Linked DNA regions of Homo sapiens: region 1 is linked to region 2. The links are contacts of gene promoters, found by promoter capture Hi-C in blood cells and fetal thymus (Javierre and others, 2016). All regions are on one chromosome and are shown on one strand. Each heading gives the region's core, a stretch centred on a gene start or on the middle of the fragment in contact. The rest is flanking DNA. Distances are from core to core; before and after follow the strand shown.

Evidence for each region. The method cuts DNA at HindIII sites, captures the fragments that hold promoters and counts their contacts. A CHiCAGO score of 5 or more calls a contact.
Region 1: a contact is called between a fragment that was not itself captured here and the fragment with the promoter of NUP88 in region 2, in 2 of 17 cell types (M0 macrophages and M2 macrophages). The highest score is 8.2, in M0 macrophages.

What each region holds. Positions count from the first base shown.
Region 1 is chr17:6,625,388-6,630,258 of GRCh38, reverse strand. KIAA0753 reads left to right here. Exons shown (of 19, transcript NM_014804.3): 3 at 1,518-2,142. Among named protein-coding and RNA genes, the nearest start is that of KIAA0753, 13 kb to the left of the region's middle. The HindIII fragment of the contact is 4,167 bases long and covers 1,248-4,871 here.
Region 2 is chr17:5,416,125-5,420,934 of GRCh38, reverse strand. It overlaps NUP88 (nucleoporin 88), which reads left to right and starts at 1,273. Exons shown (of 17, transcript NM_002532.6): 1 at 1,273-1,581; 2 at 4,253-4,422. The coding sequence starts at 1,285. It overlaps RPAIN (RPA interacting protein), which reads right to left and starts at 753. Exons shown (of 7, transcript NM_001033002.4): 1 at 644-753. The coding sequence starts at 724. RefSeq lists enhancers at 482-701, 712-831, 561-1,098, 1,099-1,636, 1,272-1,911. The HindIII fragment of the contact is 9,370 bases long and covers 1-3,676 here.

The DNA.
Region 1 (4,871 bases), core at 2,082-4,581, 1.2 Mb before region 2:
GTGTTATGAGATTGAACATCTTTTTATGTACTTAAGGACCTCTTTTTTGGTAAATTGGTCATATGTTTTTCCCTGTTTTTATTCAGTTTTGATCTTTTTATACTTCAATAATTATTATTATAATTATTATTATTATTTAGACAGTGTCTTCCTCTGTCACCCAAGCTTGAGTGCAGTGGCTTAGTCTCAGCTCGCTGCAACCTCCACCTCCCAGGCTCAAGCGATTCTTGTGTCTCAGCCTCCTGAGTAGCTGGGATTACAGGCATGTGCCATCACGCCTACCTAATTTTTATATGTTTTTTAGTAGAGATGGGGTTTTGCCATGTTGGCCAAGCTGGTCTCAAACTCCTGACCTCAAATGACAAACACCGTTCATCAGTCTGTGTATCTTTCAGATGGTACCTATTTGTTTTTTCTTTAGTGAGCTTTCTAACTACTTTTTAAAAATCCGAAATACTTCCCTGAAGTTTTGTCACAATTGATTATTTTTAAGTGACTCTTGATGCCTGTAATTATATAAACACATTGATTGTGAGAGCAGGGGAGGCCATCTCCAAGGTCACGGCATCACAGGACTGGGTTCATTGAATTTGTAGGCATGGATTCTCCTCAGGCTATTGACCGGTCTTTGACAGGTTCATTCTGGTAGGCCTAAGGAGGGTACATATTTAAAGCCATAAAATCGTTTCTTTCCTTTAACCTGATAATCCCAGAACAGATCATTTATCCTAAGGAAATAATTTTAAAAGGTTAAAAAACTAAATGCATGGAGACATTAATTGAGGTAATATTTCTATTAGTGGAAAAACTGGAACAATCTAAATGTTTAATATTAACATTATAGTTAGGCATGAAAAGACCATTCATTGGATTTTGGAAAATGCAACAATGATAAATAAAAGCTGTAGGGATATAGAAACATGTTTATGTTTAAGTGCAAAACGAAACAAAACTTGTATTTATTATGAGGAAAACTGACAAAAACTTGAGCCTGTGTAAGAAAGCATAAGCGGACTGTTTCAAGTGAGATACACTTAGGGGCAGGGTAAAAGATGGATCCAGCCACCAAATGAAGTCTCAGGAAGACCTGAAGAAGTACTATCAGATGGCTTGGATCTATCCGTGGAGCAAATTTTAAGAAAGCTTCAATGGGTTATATTGGTCACTTGCTGGGGCCTGACATTTTGAAATAGGACAGAAGTCCATAACTGGGAAATTGAAGGACTTAGTGGTTGCTGCTTGAAGCTTTCTGGGTTTACTTTTAGAGATGGTTCCCAGTATGACATTAGTAAACAGAAGGATAATAGTATGGGACTGGATGATTATAGGATAGAACCAGGGGTATGTGATGAACCCAAGGGTGTAGGAGCGTGGCTGTGTCTATCAGTAAAACAGAAAAATGCCTCTTAGCACTAATGATCTGGTGGCAAAATTTTAGAAATTTGATTATAGACATATACCAACTGTGCAATATGAAATTTTTCTGATGTCTGCTTACTTTTATTTGCTTTTTAAAGAACCAGCTGCAGTTTAATAGGAATGTTCCTACACATTCAAGCAACTTGGCGATCCGATATTCTTGCCCACATGCCATTAGAATTGAAAAACTGAAGCACTCATACAATGAATCATACCATTGTAAAGATGCAGATTGTAGAGTTGGTCCTGACCTGGGCAGTTCTGTTTCATTTTCCGTCATATCCCAAGAGAGACTTAGCTATGCTGTCCACCTAGCCAGAAGAGATGTGAAACGAAGACAATTTGAAAAACATATAAAAGAACATCATCTCAGAAGTCAGCCTCAAAGCTCTCAGAAGTGTGGACATACTAAGTATAAAATACCCGACCACAGGGTGGAAAGGAAGGAATCAAAGAGTCAAGCAGCCTGTCAGTGTAGCCACCAGCCATCCAAAGTAGAAATCTCCAGCTCTGGTGCCAAAGTATACCTTTACTCATCTCATCCAGGCCAGTCAGATCTTACTGTGCCAAATTCGCCACCCACCCATGATCCGGGACTTCAGCCTCATCCCAGGATAGGTGACCACAAAAACATAAGTGAACAGAAAAGCCTGCTAGAAGTCCAGCGACTCCAGAAAGAACTGAGCAGTTGTATCCACAAAATTGAAGAGGTAACTAAAAAAGGTGAGAAAAATTAGATTCTTTACTTCGACCTAAGGCTGTGATTATGGGGTAGTTTAAATGCATTCCTTGAGGACCCTCAACCCCTATAGCAATTTCATTCTTTCCTTCTGTGAGTTGGTTCACTGGAGTGTGAGTACTCAGGACAAGACAGTTAGGCTTGGAGTTTGAACAGTGTCTTGCCCCAGCTCCTCTTTCCAGCGGAGGGACATGAAAGAACTTCTTCACTGTGGCTGCCCTTCAAATGTCCACTGACTGAGGGCCCAGCCTACGAGGTGGCATTAATGTTGGCTGAACCTTAGGTCTTCTGGGACCTGAGTGCAAATTATCCTATAATGTTTTCCCTCTTCTGGGAAAATTATTTTTCAATTTGCTTGAAAAGAGAGCATAATGTATTTATATTATAGGTAAAACCAGTTCTCACTTGGGCAGTATTTAGGTGAGTACACACCAGTGACAAGGGAAGTTGTGGGTATATGTGTAAAGTGAGCACAGGGTAGGAAGGAAGGAATTTAATCATCATATATGGTTTTCTACAGTTCTGCAGTGTTCTCAGGGCCCTTGTATTTCCCTGCTGAGTAGAAGACTGGTTCCACGTGGAGAATTTGGGGTTACCGTAACTAACAAGTAGGGAACCAAGCCCAGCTTTCAGATTGCAAGGGGTATGGAGTTGAGCATCAAAAGAAACCGTTGCACTAGGGTAGTACATAGTCTAGAATTATTTTTTGCATTTTCAATTTAATTAATATATGCATATGTACCTATATGCATCTTATGAAAGAATTTAAGGTACCTTAAGAAATACCTGTGATTGAATAAGATAAAACAAAAATGCACATGAGGATATTGTGGCAAAGGAAACAATAAGGAAAGGAAAAACATTTACTAGGGATGAGTCACAGATTTGCTTCTGAGCTTCCTAGGAGCCAGCTAAAGAGGGAACGTCAAATCACTTGGAGAATTTACAAAGTCTAAGACAGAAAAAAACAATTGTGTAAGGAAAACAATTATTCCACATATTAAGGCCAGAAAGAAATTTCTCCTGTAGGTCTTCTTAAAGAGTGTGTTGTATAATATCATGAACAATTCAAAACCATTCCAGCATAAAAATAACAGAAATGTTGTGGCTTGTTTCTCTTGATATTCCTTAGTGTCAGCCTGTGGCATGGACCCCTACCTACTTTGATTGGAAGCCCTGCGACCAGGGGAACAAAGCCACAAGGCCCACTGCTCTGGTGATCTGGCCTAATACCGGGGAACTGTTAGAACAGAGCTTTCAAAGTCTCTGTGGGGAAGGACTGGGTTGGTTTATTTTATTTACATGAATTTTCAATGTGTCATAAGTCAATACTTTGTGAACTATAATAAAAATGTCACAGTAGCGGCAAACTGCTATGGAAACACGTAAACATATACTTTAAATTTCTGTACTTACCTTTCATGGATTAATAATATTTTGCGATGGCCCCTGGCTGCAGACCCCCTTTGAAGTAGCCCCGAAGGCCCATTTGTGCTTCCCAGTGCTGCTCTGTAGACAGCTGCAGGCGCTGCATGGGAATCATCTGCAGTGAGCCTTCAAACCCCCCACCTAAGCCCGTTCCATTTATGTTCATAGAAGTATGTGAATCCGGATTTTCCCCTACCATGCAGCCCAAACGAGATGAAAGTAATTAGACATATAGGGTCTCTTGAGACTGCATCTGTATCTACAACTCCTGACTTCAGATTTTTGCTTTCTTCAAAACAGCCTTATACTCTTTGCATTGTTTGATGTTTTAAAGAGTAAATATTAAAAATTTGAACTTATAAAATACACTTTTACTAATTGAAGACTCCCTTTTCTTTGATAATTGGAGTATATTGGAGTTTCGTATAAGAATTTGTTTGTATAAGTGTATTTGAAAACCACAGCCTGGAAGGAATAGATAGATTGCATCTTCTTCAAACAGTTTTCCAGAAACAATTTCTTTGAACCAATCTTTTCAAGATATAGAGTACCAGTGTGTACAAGGGTATGCTTCCTGAGAAATACATGAAGACTCTAGACACTCAAATAATTTTGAGACTTGCTATCTTAATATGTTAGAGAAAAGACTTGTCTTTTGAAATCAAGATTAAGGCTGGGCATGGTGGCTCACACCTGTAATCCTAGCACTTTTGGAGGCTGAGGCAGGTGCATCACTTGAGGCCAGGAGTTTGAGACCAGCCTGGCCAACAGGCCAAAACCTTGTCTCTACTAAAGATACAAAAATTAGTTGAGTGTGGTGGTGTGGACCTGTAATCCCAGCTACTCAGGAGGCTGAGGCAGGAGAATCACTTGACCCGGGAGGTGGAGGTTGCTGTGTGAGACTGGTGACAGTGTGAGACTCTGCCTCAGAAAGAAAAAGAAAAAAATGTTTACAATAAGATGCTATCTTAATGTCTCTCTCTCTTTTTTTTAATTCTTCTCTTTTTTAAGACAGTCTCATTTTGTCACCCAGGCTGGAGTGTAGTGGTGCGATCTCAGCTCACTGCAACCTCCGCCTCCTGGGTTCAAGCAGTTCTCCTGCCTCAGCCTCCCGAGTAGCTGGGATTACAGGTGCACACCACCACGCCTGGCTAATTTTTGTATTTTTAGTAGAGACAGGGTTTTGCCATGTTGGCCGGGCTGGCCTTGAAATTCTGACCTCAGGTGATCCGCCCATCTCAGCCTCCCAAAGTGCTGGGATTATAGGGGTGAGCCACCACTCCTG
Region 2 (4,810 bases), core at 24-2,523:
GGAGGTTTTGTCCCCCAAGGAACATTTGGCAATGCTTGGAGACATTTCTGGTTGTCACAATTCTAGTTATAGGACTATTAGCATCTAGTGGGTGGAGGCCCGAGACGTGGCTTAAACAACCCTCCACAACATATAAATATCTCCCTCAAAATGTCCATTGTCAAGGCTGAGAAACTCTGCTGTATCTGCTATCTTTCTTGCGTCGGGTTACTTTCTTGGACATTACTTACTAATAACCACACTGTGTTCAGAAGAGGCCAGAACTGAGGTGGAGCCCTCTTCTAAGCCTCATTTTACTACTCTCTAGAATAGAAATCATCTCTATCTCACAAGACGAACGTAGACAAAGTGCCTCTCTCGGTGGCCACCTCCGCAGCAACAGTAGGTAGTGTTATTGCAGAGGTGCAAACGGTGATGTCCTGACCACAATTTAAATTCAAAACAAAATCGAATCCAAAAACAAGGCTTTCTAGGACTTGACCGACCCGGGCTAATCCCACACTCTACAGTCAGCAGGCCTGGGTTTGACCAGACCAGGCGCGCTGCGGCACCTGCTCCACGGAGCAGGGCTAAGGCGAAGGCAGGGAAGACGGCGGTCACCGGGACGATCTAGGGTAGACCACTGCACAAACCCCATACCCACCTGCCGGAAAGCCTCTTTCCAAGGCGGCGAGCCCACCAGTTTGTACAGGGAGCGGCGCGGAGACCTCAACGACTCCGCCATCTCCTCTTCGCGGGAGACAAAGCCACAAGACCCGTTCCCTGGAGGCGCGCACAGACCCCTGGGAGGTGTACTTTCCGGGTGCAGACCGCGAATGGATCGCAGCGTATTCTGGGAAGTGTTGTTTTATCGACCGGCCCCACGTGGAGACAGATTTAGGCATCCAAGCGAAATGCGTGAGGCCAGCCCGACCTGCACTGAGGGAGGTAAGTCTTGAGGGAAAGTTCTGGATGCCTGGGTTTACCCAGATGGAGGTGTCCAATAGGCAATTAGATACACAAGTCTCAGGCTCTCCCCAGGTGCTAGATTTCCAGCAGCACCACCATTATGTTGACTTCTCGTCCCGCCCCCTTGGGCTTCAGAAATAATGGTGATTGGCTTTCCCTTGGTGACGCCCCTGCTTGGTGGGCTGGCCTCGCCTTCGCCCCCCGACCTGGCACGAGCCTCTCGAGCTTCCGGGCCGTCTGCTCGGTGATTGGCCGAAACAGTGAGTGGACGGCCGCGGATTGGCTGTGCTCAGCGGCGGGCTGAGCAACTGGAGTGAGGGGAGCAGTTGGGCCAAGATGGCGGCCGCCGAGGGACCGGTGGGCGACGGCGAGCTGTGGCAGACCTGGCTTCCTAACCACGTCGTGTTCTTGCGGCTCCGGGAGGGACTGAAAAACCAGAGTCCAACCGAAGCTGAGAAACCAGCTTCTTCGTCGTTGCCTTCGTCGCCGCCGCCGCAGTTGCTGACGAGAAACGTGGTCTTTGGCCTCGGCGGAGAGCTTTTCCTGTGGGACGGAGAAGACAGCTCCTTCTTAGTCGTTCGCCTTCGGGGCCCCAGCGGCGGCGGCGAAGAGCCCGCCCTGTCCCAGTACCAGGTAATGCCAGGCCGATCTTGGAAGTGACCCTCACCGGGATCGGAACCAGTCTTTTTTGTTCCTTGCTCCTCTTGGCTGTTTTTCATCTTGTGGCAGGCGTTCCAGCGGATTGACTCCGACGCTGCCATACGCGGTCGCGGGGACTCAGGCTCTCTCGATGCTTACGGCCTGGAGGCCTGGGAGGAAGGAAAGGGTCATTGAATATTCAATAAAAATACTAGTGACGGATGAGTGCTCTGGAGAAAAACAAAGCGGGCTAAAGGGGTTGAGAACGAGTGGGCGGAGTTGCTATTTTTAGTTTCGTCGAGAGAAACCTGTTTCCTGATGTGACGCTTATAATAGGTTAGATCGTAACTTTCTCTTGCGTTGTGCACAGCAAGTCAGGTTGCAGGTTTCAAAGCACCACGCTTCATGCTTGACATGGAGGAGGAAGTCTCTGTTAATTCTTACCCCCGTAACGCCCGCTTTAGAAAATAAAGCCATACCCAAAATGGGGATTTTTGTTTTTGATTAGCCGACAGCATGTGAAAATGGGTGTGATCCAGAAAGTATTACACACTTGCCGTGGTCAAATATTGGTTTATGGAAATGTTTATTTGTAATACACAGATTCTCTTAAAGATGAAAAAGAGCTTGGTACTCATTCTAAGGTATGACATCTGTTGTGTGCCCGGTCCAATTCTTGTTACCGAGAAGTGATTTAATTTTAATAAGACGCTAGCAATGCTTCTGCAGTTTTGAAAATAGGGCAGGAGTCTACAGTCTACTTATTTACCCAATTTCAGTTAAAAAGAATTATGAAGGCCGGGCGCGGTGGCTCACGCCTGCAGTCCCAACACTGGGAGGCAGAGGCAGGTGGATCACCTGAAGTCAGGAATTCGAGACCAGCCTGGCCAACATGGTGAAACCCCGTCTCTACTAAAAATACAAAAATTAGCCAGGTGTAGTGGCGCGCCCTTGTAATCCCAGCTACTCAGGTGCCTGAGGCAGGAGAATCGCTTGAACCTGGGAGGAGGAGGTTGCAGTGAGCTGAGATCACGCCCCTGCACTACAGCCTGGGCAACAGAGCAAGACTGTGTCTCAAAAAATAATAATAATTACCAAATGTGCAGCACGCAGTATTCTAATAACATTCTATACTGCTGTGTAGCATTTGACATAATCATAACTTAATTATTTATAATTATTTTGTGTCTTTTTTTTTTTTTTGAGATGGAGTTTCGCTCTTGTTGCCCAGGCTGGAGTGCAATGGCGCCATCTCGGCTCACCGCAACCTCCACCTTCCAGTTTCAAGCGATTCTTCTGCCTCAGCCCCCCCCGCGAGTAGCTGGGATTACAGGTATCTGCCACCACGCCCGACTAATTTTTGTGTTTTTAGTAGAGACGGGGTTTCGCCATGTTGGCCAGGCTGGTCTTGAACTCCTGACCTCGTGATCTGCTGGCTTTGGCCTCCCAAAGTGTTGGGATTACAGGCGTGAGCCACTGCGCCCGGCTGTTTTTGTTTTGTTTTGTTTTGAGGCAGGATCTCGCTCTGTTGCCCAGGCTGGAGTGCAGTGGTGCAATCTCAGCTAACTGCAACCTCCACCTCATGGATTCAAGCGATTCTCCTGCCTCAGCCTCTTGAGTAGTTGGGATTACAGGCCCACTCCACCGTACCCGGCTACTTTTTGTATTTTTAGTGGAGACGGGGTTTCACCATGTTAACCAGGCTGATCTGGAACTCCTGGCCTCAGGTGATCCACCCGTCTTGGCCTCCCAAAGTGCTGGCATTTCAGCCGTGAGCCATGGCACTCTGCCTCTGTCTTCTTTTCTAGACTGTAAGCTCCAAGGCAGGGGCTGGGTCTGCCCTTGTCATTTTTTAAAAACGTATTTTATTTTTTATTTTTGAAATGGGGTCTTTCTCTGTTGCCCAGGCTGGAGTGCAGTGGTGTGATCACGGCTCATTGGAGCCTCTACTGTCAGGGGTCGAGTGATCCTCCCACCTCAGCGCCTGGAAGTAGCTGGGACTACAGGCATGTGCCACCACGCCTGGCTATTTACTTATTTTTGTATGTCCAGCATACAGAAATGCTGGAGTGCCCAGAATTTATAAGCTTTCAGTAAATATTGGTGACTATCTCAATAACCTTCACTCCTCCAAAATCTCAAAACCTTAGAGATGGGGAAGAAAGCAGCTTATCATGAGTTGTAACTTTGGATGTTAAAAGCAAGCATGAGTAAGCTGGGTGTGGTAGCTGTAGCCTATAATCAGCACTTTAGGAGGCCAAGGTGGAGGCAGGTGGATCTTGTGAGCACGGGAACAGGTGTTCAGACCAGCCTGGGCAACATGACGAAACCCCCATCTCTACAAAAAAAACCTTTTTAATTAGCTGGGAGTGATGGTGCACACCTGTAGTCCCAGCTCCTCTGGAAGCTGAGGTGGGGAGGACACTTGAACCCCCATAGTAAAGTCTGCAGTGGGCTGCCACTGCACTCCAGCCTGGGTGACAGCAAGACTCTGTCTCAAAAAAAAAAAAAAAAATTTGTGAGTTAATGGTACAAGTGTGAGTACTTATCCAGAGTTTTATTATCCTATAATTGTAGTAAACTAAGTATTACTGTGATTTCAAGTAACTGCCACCTATATTTAAATTAAAATTAACTATGTTGACTGGTTTGCTCTAATTTTCAGAGATTGCTTTGCATAAATCCACCCCTGTTTGAAATCTATCAAGTCTTGTTAAGCCCAACACAACATCATGTAGCACTTATAGGAATAAAAGGACTTATGGTATTAGAATTACCTAAAAGATGGGGGAAGAATTCTGAATTTGAAGGTGGAAAATCAACAGTGAATTGTAGGTAAGTTGTATACTATTTATCTGTATAATTTATTATATATACAGAAAATTGTTCAAGACTAGTGGTTCTTAAGCATGTTTAGTATACTACTCTTAAAACATTAAAACACTCCTCGTGGTCTGCAGACTGGCTTCTGTGTTATCAATGTTCATAGTATATGTGTAATTGATTGTACTTTATTCTGCCTGAAGTACCACGTTGCTGTCTCATTTGAGGCTAGGCCATTCTTTCGATTAGGTAGAAGTAAGATTTTGTAAAACCAGTTATCTGTCAGCCAGAAGTTTGCCAGAAGTGTAAGTATTTTATGTGTGTGTGTGTGTGTGTATGTGTGTATATATATATATACTTTTTTTTTTTTTTTTTTTTTTGAGATGGAGTCTTGCTCTGT